3 separate regions of the Homo sapiens genome follow, and all the other regions are linked to region 2. The links are contacts of gene promoters, found by promoter capture Hi-C in blood cells and fetal thymus (Javierre and others, 2016). All regions are on one chromosome and are shown on one strand. Each heading gives the region's core, a stretch centred on a gene start or on the middle of the fragment in contact. The rest is flanking DNA. Distances are from core to core; before and after follow the strand shown.

Region 1 (2,700 bases), core at 59-2,558, 160 kb before region 2:
ATTTCTTCCTCTACAAGGCTTGCTTGCACACTTAAGCATGCACATGCATGCAAATTGTTTTACAAAAATGAGATCACACTGAACATGCTACTTTGCACCCTGTTCCCTTTGGTTAATAAATATGAAGAACATTCAGTGTCAACCATTACAGACGTAACATCATCCTTTTCAGAGTCCCACGGTATCATTCTGTGTGCCATTGTACTGTACCAGTGTATTAAAATTTGTTTAACTTAATGATGAAAAATTGCTTTAAATTTTTCAGCCTTATCTTTTTTTTTTATTTTTTTGAGACAGGGTCTTGCTCTCTTGCCCAGGCTGGAAGGCAGTGGTGGGGCTCAATGCAGCCTCTACCTCCTGTGCTTAAGCAATCCTCCCACCTCAGACTCCTGAGTAGCTGGGACTACAAGCATGCATCACCAAACCTGGCTAACTTTAAAGAAATCTTTTTTTTGTGGAGACAGAGTCTCCCTATGTTGTCTAAGCTGGTCTCAAACTCCTGGGCTCAAGCGATCCTCTTGACTTGGCCTCCCAAAGTGCTGGGATTACAGGCGTGTGCCACCACACCCAGCAAGTTATTCGGCATTATTAACAACTCTTTTGTTCCCCCACTTCTCTATTTTCTTAGGATAAATTCCTAGAAGTTAGATGGCTGGGTCAAAGGACCACTATACATGCTTTGGAAAGGTTTCAAAAATCTATGCTCCTGCTAGTGTTTCCTCACAGCCATTTCTGTCAATCTGATAGTGGAAAAAACCAACATGGAATTGTTTTGTCTTGCATGACTGAGTACTAACTGAGGCTGAAAGTCTTTTTTTTTTCTAAAGTCCCAATTTTATTGAGCATTTGCATTTCTTCCTTTGTAAACCGCCTGCTCTTGACCTTCGTCCATTTTTGCTATCAGGCTATTTTGTCTTTTTTTTTTTTTCACTGATTTAAAAAACTTCCAGATATTATAGATACTTATTCTTCTTAAATGTCTGCAAGTACTTCCCCCACTTTGTTATTTCTCTTTTAATATGTTCAGAAAAAAAGAATGACATAGCAATTAAGAATCACCATGTCGGCCTGGCGCGGTGGCTCACACCTGTAATCCCAGCACTTTGGGAGGCCGAGGCGGGCGGATCATGAGGTCAGGAGATCGAGACCATCCTGGCTAACACGGTGAAACCCCGTCTCTACTAAAAATATAAAAAATTAGCTGGGCGTGGTGGCGGGCGCCTGTAGTCCCAGCTACTTGGGCGGTTGAGGCAGGAGAATGGCGAGAACCTGGGAGGCGGAGCTTGCACCGAGATTGCGCCACTGCACTCCAGCCTGGGTGACAGAGCGAGACTCCGTCTCAAAAAAAAAAAAAAAAAAAAAAAAAAAAAGAATCACCATATCCTAGCCTTGGAACCTGGGGCAAGTTTTACCTCTTTCAGCTGCAGTTTTTCTCAACTGTACATTGTGGCTAACAATTACAGCTAACTCACGGATTGATGAGATAACTCATGTGGAATCTATGGCACCATGCCTGGCACTTAGTATTAGCTAGTACACATTATTCATAGTGGGTTTTTTTTTTTTGACACTTTTGCTTTAACTCTTACTTTGAAAATGTGAATTTGTTCAAATGCATCAGATACATCCAGAAACAATCTGAGCATAATATAAATTTTGCATTTGCTTATGCATGAGAAAAACACTAGGAAGTGCAGAAAACCATATTCGGCTGAAATGAGCCATGCAGGAATGCACAAAATGTGCACACACATACACAGGCACCTTAAACATCTACCAGCTTCATCAGGTCACTGCATGTGTTATGAATCACATTCATCACATTGATGTCAGAACTTTCCATTGGACTTCAGACAGCCCTCCTTCCACCACTTCCTGATAACTCCCAAGCTGTAACCTAATGACACTTACTTCCCACAAGCAAACCTCAGGTGTTTTTCAAGCCAAAGTGCCTTTTCATTGTGGTATTTATATATTTCTTAGTTTTTCTGGTCTATAAAACTGTGTGACTGTTTTATTAGGTCCCCCCACTTTTTTTTTTTTTTTTGAGACGGAGTCTTGCTCTGTCGCCCAGGCTGGAGTGCAGTGGCGGGATCTCGGCTCACTGCAACCTCCACCTCCTGGGTTCAAGCACTTCTCCTGCCTCAGCCTCCTGAGTAGCTGGGATTACAGGCGCCCGCCACCACGCCCAGTAGAGACGGGGTTTCACCATGTTGGTCAGGCTGGTCTCGAACCCCTGACCTCGTGATCCACCCGCCTCAGCCTTCCAAAGTGCTGGGATTACAGGTGTGAGCCACTGTGCCCGGCAGGTCCCTATCTTTTTTAAAAAATAAATCTTTTCCTTTTTTTGGTCACCTATGAGATTTTTTATTGTTGTGATCCTTAACCCTCCATTTCACAGTAAGTTCTGGGTTTCTGTTTTAGAGACAGGGTCTTACTCTGTCACCCAGGCTGGAGTGCAGTGATGTGATCATAGCTCACTGTGGCCTCTACCTCCTGGGCTTAAGGGATCCTCCACTGCAGCCTCTTGGGTAGCTGGGAGTACAGGCACACACCACCATGTCCAGATAATTTTTATTTTTTATTTGTAAGAGAGACTGGGTCTTGCTTTGTTGCCCAGGCTGGTCTTGAACTCCCTGCCTCATGCGATCCTCCCACCTTAGCCTCCTGATTACAAGCATGAGCCAACATGCCCACTCC
Region 2 (2,700 bases), core at 11-2,510:
AAAAAAAAAAAAATTGAGAACTGCTGATCTAGCCAATCCACCCACTCACGAATTCCCCTCCCATGAATTGGAGAGAAACTTGACCTCCCAAAGTCTTCTTGGATGCCTCCATGGACAAGAAAACTCACTGCAGGTCGGGCACCGTGGCTCACGCCTATAATCCCAGCACTATGGGAAGCCGAGGCGGGTGGATCACCTGAGGTCAAGAGTTCGAGACCAGCCTGGCCAACATGATGAAACTCCGTCTCTACTAAAAATAGAGAAATTAGCCGAGCGTGGTGGCGGGAGCCTGTAATCCCAGCTACTGGGTAGGTTGAGGCAGGAGAATCGCTTGAACCCAGGAAACAGAGGTTGCAGTGAGCGGAGATGGCGCCATTGCACTCCGGCCTGGGTGTCAGAGCGAGACTCCGTCTCGAAACAAACAAAACCACTTCATTGCAAACGCGGTAGGCAATGAGGACCCAGGCAGCCCGCTTTGGCCAGCTCTGCCCAAGGAACAGTCTTCCCGTTCACCCCCACTTCTGCCCGGCTGTAACCTGTCACTCCTGTCCCCTCGGAGCCCAGACTGCCCCTCCTCCGATTCACACCCCGACAGCTGAAGGGAATGAGGAGCGGCCGCCGCATGCGCCCCTGGCCCGCAGGTGAGTGGAGGCTGAAATGGCGGGAGGCTGAAATGGCGGGAGCCTGAGCTAAGGCCGAATCCCCGGGAAATGGAGGCAGGGGCAGCAAAGGGAAGGAGCCAGAAGGCGGAAGGCGGGAAGGTGTGTCCCTGAGACTGGGTGAGGTCCCGGGGGATCCGGATTTCCGTCCTTTCAGGCGCAGAGCCAGTGGACCGGGCTCCACGGAGGCCCGCAGGCCGGCCTGGGGCTGAGGGGCCCGAGAGGCCGCTGCGGCCGGGTCCGGGACGGGCTGACAGGGAGGAGAGTGAACACAGCGCGGGGGCCCGGTTTCGCGTCGGGTTCACCGGAGCGGGTCTGGCAAGGGCCTGGCCGCGTTTGCTGAGGGAAATGGCCAAACCCAGGTCTTCTGAAGAAAAGGTTCCGCCCGCACCGACACGCCGGGGTCCGGCAGCAGCTCCAGCGCGCAGGCCAGGCACAGGCGGGGGGTCACGGGCAGCAGCCAGCGCGGGTCGTGCCGGTAATGGGCCCTCTCGAATAGAAGCGCCGCCTCTTCCTCTCTCCTGGGCCCGGGAGTGCCCGCCGTCGCCGCCTGCCTCACAGCCATCTCCTCGCTTGCCCTCAGCTGAGGCGGCACTCTTTCCCGCGCAGACTGCACGCATGCGCACTTGGAGGACGGACCTGCGTCGGTGTGGAATGCGCCTGCGCGGACCCAGGGCGCTGCAGTCTCAGACGAGCAGCAGCCACTGAGGGCAAGTGGTGGACGCAAGTGCTCTGGATCGTGTCTAGCTAAGCCAAAAGCGGTTTGTGCTTAGAACCCTGCAGGAATGTCTTTACCACATCCAAAGTTGAAAAGCAATTATAAAGTAGGGGGCATTTGCCTTGAAAAAGGAAGGAAAGGAAGCTATTTCTACTGTTTTTTAAAAATGAAGGCCGGGCATGGTGGCTCACGCCTGTAATCCCAGCACTTTGGGAAGCCGAGGTGGGCGGATCACGAGATCTGGAGATCAAGACCATCTTACCCAACATGGTGAAACCCCGTCTCTACTAAAATACAAAAAATTAGCTGGGTGTGGTGGCAAGTGCCTGTAATCCCAGCTACTTGGGAGGCTTGAGGCAGGGGAATCACTTGAACCTGGGAGGCGGAGGTTGCAGTGAGCTGAGATTGTGCCACTGCACTCCAGCCTGGCGACAGAGCAAGACTCTATCTCAAAAAAAAAAAAAAAAAGGAAAATAAGCGATCCCAAGGATTCGCATCTAAAAGCAATTAGAGGCTGGGTGAGTTGGCTCATGCCTGTAATCACAGCACTTTGGGAGGGAGGCTGAGGCAGGAGAATCACTTGAACCTGGGAGGTGGAGGTTGCAGTGAGCCAAGATCGCACCACTGCACTCCAGCCTGGGTGACAGAGGAAGACTCCATCTTAAAAATAAATAAATAAATCAGAAGCTTAAGACCAAAAAATAAAAGTAAAAAAACAAAACAAAACACCAAAGACAGAGAGAAAGAAGTTCAAGACCAGCCTGAGCAACAGGGCGAAACCCCTCCTCTACTAAAAATACAAAAATTAGCTGGGTGTGGTGGCTCATGACTGTAATCCCAGCTACTCGGGAGGCTGAGGCAGCAGAATCGCTTGAACCCAGGAGGCGGAGGTTACAGTGAGCGGAGATCAAGCCACTGAACTCCAGCTTGGGCCACAGACCTACACTCCATCTCAAAAAAAAAAAAAAAAGCGTCCCATGCAGAGGACCACCCCTCCCCATAAGCAGCTGAGGCTTTTGGAGTGTCCTGCCTCAATCAGGATTAGCTTGGAGACAGAGCAGGATAGAACCTCAGTGGACTCCACTGTGAGGAGCTGGGGGGCAGGTGTTTCGGAGAGGACACTGGGTTGACCCACATTCCCTAAACCACAACCACAGAGTGGAAGGGGCTTCTACCCCACCCACAAAGTATCCCAAACCCCGAAAGGGGGCACTTGGAAAATGTGCCAGAGAAATCAGAACACCACAGGGCCCAAATGACCAATTTATTAGAGGCTTTGCAGGGATCAGGACACTCTCAAAGCTTTTCTGATATGTCCTGAGG
Region 3 (2,700 bases), core at 128-2,627, 190 kb before region 2:
TGCTCCCTACCCCAAAAAGCAGAGCAAGCTAATGAAATCCCTGACTTGGTCCAAGTACTGACTCCGCTTGGTAAAGGGATACATAAAAATGGGTGCACCTGCCAGGCGTGGTGGCTCATGCCTGTAATCCCAGCACTTTGGGAGGCCGAGGCAGGCGGATTGCCCGAGATCAGGAGTTCAAGACCAGCCTGAATGACATGGTGAAACCTCATCTCTACTAAAAGTACAAAAATTAGCCAGGCATGGTGGTGGGCGCCTGTAATCCCAGCTACTTGGGAGGCTAAGGCAGAAGAATCACTTGAACCCGGGAGGCAGAGGTTGCAGTGAGCTGAGACTGGTCCATTGCACTCCAGCCTGGGCAACAAGAGCGAAACTCCATCTCAAAAAAAAAAAAAAAAAAAAAGGCCTGGGCATGGTGGCTCACGCCTGTAATCCCAGCACTTTGGGAGGCTGAGGCAGGCGGATCACGAGGTCGAGACCATCCTGGCTAACATGGTGAAACCTCGTCTCTACTAAAAATACAAAAAATTAGCCGGGCATGGTGGCAGGCGCCTGTAGTCCCAGCTACTCAGGAGGCTGACACAGAAGAATGGCGTGAACCCAGGAGGCAGAGCTTGCAGTGTGCCAAGATTGCGCCACTGCACTCCAACCTGAGTGACAGAGCGAGACTCCGTCTCCAAAAAAAAAAAAAAAACGCACTTGGTCTAGGAGGAAAGGCCAGGTCAGAGTTAACATAGGGCTCTCATTTTTGAGAAATTAAATACAAAGGAACCATTTGATTGCCCTGCCAACCCGATGCCAGGCTTGTTTCCCTCCAGGAGTGCAGGCCTTCAGGCTGTCCTGGAGTTGCCTGCGTGGACAGGTCCTAAGGCAGGGGGACTGGTCTGGGGACTTTACCAGCTCTCTTCTTCCTGGTCTCCAGCCTTCTTCTTGGCCTGAGGTTTCACCAAGGACTCTATAGCTCGCTCCAGCAGGTTCTTGCAGAAGGCCTGGTGGACCTGCGCAATGGGGTCAGCTGGAAAAGAGACAGGCAAGGGGGGTTAAATGGAGCTCATTTATGAGCCCACTTTGTCTTTACGGAGAGAAACTCCAAACACAGCCATGCCTTGTGAATGGGGATCAGATGCCCCTTCTCCACCAAAGCCCAGAACTACTGTGCTAAACAGTTGGAGGATGGGGGAGAGTGTTCACTCCCAGCCTGAAGAGCTCAAGACTAGTTCTGGATGAGCTCCGGTGGGGAGGGGGTGTGGGGGAGGGTGCTGTGTCTCCTGGCACAGTGCTCAGTACTCTAAGGTTGGGAGCTGTCAGGTGGAGTTGGATCAGAAAACAGAAAATGGAATGTCTCAGAGGATTTCTCTTCTCCATGTGGCTAAGGAGAACCACCAGGCAAGGAAAAAAAGGTGGTAGCTGCTGCCACGCTCATGACAACGAAGAACATGCTCCGGTTTTTCCAGAGCCTTGTCATGGAACGTGCCATCAGCAGTGACCTGTCTGAACTGGCTAGACACGGGGCCTTGCAATGCTTGGATAGCTGACTGTCACCAGCAAGTTTCTTTACTGGCAGGCCTCAAATCACCAGCCCCTTCTCTCTCCTCACATGTGGCAGATATGTGGGCCTCGATCTAATGACCAGGAGGAGGGACACTTATGAACACATTCCAAGTAACAAGGCCTGGAGCCAGAGACTGCCAGAGATGACAAAGCCACTGAGAAGTCCATGTTTAGCCAGCAGGGGTGGGGTAGAAAGATTTAGGATTGCTTTTGCTTTCATCCTTTATATTTTGGTGTTGCACACAATTCTCACGTTGAGCAATACAGTTATTATTTAAAAAAGAAAAGGACAGTGAACTCCCCCAATGTGTGACACACACCCCTATACCTGTAGAACCTTACTCTCCCCACAGACTCCAATTCTGAGAGGGGAGGAAAAGTACAGCAGAAAGCAGACAGCCACTGAGCACTCAAGGTCTAAGTCAATCCTGACCAGCCTCTACTGCTCCAAGGCCGGGCGAGTCAACTCCAATCACTATCAAATGCCAGGGACAGAAAGCCAGCACCTCCTTCCAATGCCTGAAGCCTCGTCCCTGTCACCACTCTGAGCAGTTGATGACTGCCTGCCACCTATTGTTCCCAAACTCTCCATTTATGTCTGTCTGCTCTCCCAATGGGAGAGACCTGGAGGCCAGGGAAAGCAAGCCTCACACATCCTTTGTGTCTCCAAAGTGCCCAAAACAAGGGCTAAGAGTACCCTTGGAGCTTAATCACAATTTATTGCTGTGTGATGTAAGGACCATGGGCTCTGAATGTTAGAGAGAGCAGAGCTGCACACCCAGCTTAGCCACTGACAATTTCTGATCAGGCTTGTGACCTTAAGCAAGTTACTCAACCTCCCTGAGCTTTGGTTCAAACAAACAAACAAACAAACAAACAAACGGACTCAACAAGATTAAGAGACAACCCGTGTCTCCGCGTGTCTGGTGCAGTGACTCTGTAGTACCGGCGGTTTGCATGGCTTTCTCCAATTCTGAATGGCTCCAAGGTATTCTCACCTGGGTTCCTCTGGGCACAGTATAGACTCTCCTTGGCAGCTGACTTCACAGACCAGCTCCGCTCCATGAAAAACTTCTGGCCCAGGGGGTGGCAGAGCCAGCGCAGGGAGTCAGGAACAGCACTGTGCTCGGGGCCACACAGGCTCTGGGC

The links. Contacts are between HindIII fragments. The CHiCAGO score rates a contact against its expected background, and 5 or more counts as called.
Region 1: a fragment that was not itself captured here is called in contact with the fragment with the promoter of MEI1 in region 2 in 1 of 17 cell types (megakaryocytes); the score reaches 6.3 in megakaryocytes.
Region 3: a fragment that was not itself captured here is called in contact with the fragment with the promoter of MEI1 in region 2 in 1 of 17 cell types (total B cells); the score reaches 6.3 in total B cells.

The regions. Positions count from the first base shown.
Region 1 is chr22:41,858,470-41,861,169 of GRCh38, reverse strand. All of the region lies in intron 1 of SREBF2 (sterol regulatory element binding transcription factor 2), which reads right to left. Among named protein-coding and RNA genes, the nearest start is that of SREBF2-AS1, 25 kb to the right of the region's middle. The HindIII fragment of the contact is 6,200 bases long and covers 1-2,700 here.
Region 2 is chr22:41,698,063-41,700,762 of GRCh38, reverse strand. It overlaps MEI1 (meiotic double-stranded break formation protein 1), which reads right to left and starts at 1,260. Exons shown (of 31, transcript NM_152513.4): 1 at 1,051-1,260. The coding sequence starts at 1,224. It also overlaps the pseudogene C22orf46P. RefSeq lists a silencer at 1,188-1,287. The HindIII fragment of the contact is 5,602 bases long and covers 1-2,066 here.
Region 3 is chr22:41,893,135-41,895,834 of GRCh38, reverse strand. SREBF2 (sterol regulatory element binding transcription factor 2) reads right to left here. Exons shown (of 19, transcript NM_004599.4): 12 at 2,550-2,700; 13 at 898-1,015. Among named protein-coding and RNA genes, the nearest start is that of MIR33A, 6.5 kb to the left of the region's middle. The HindIII fragment of the contact is 7,044 bases long and covers 1-2,700 here.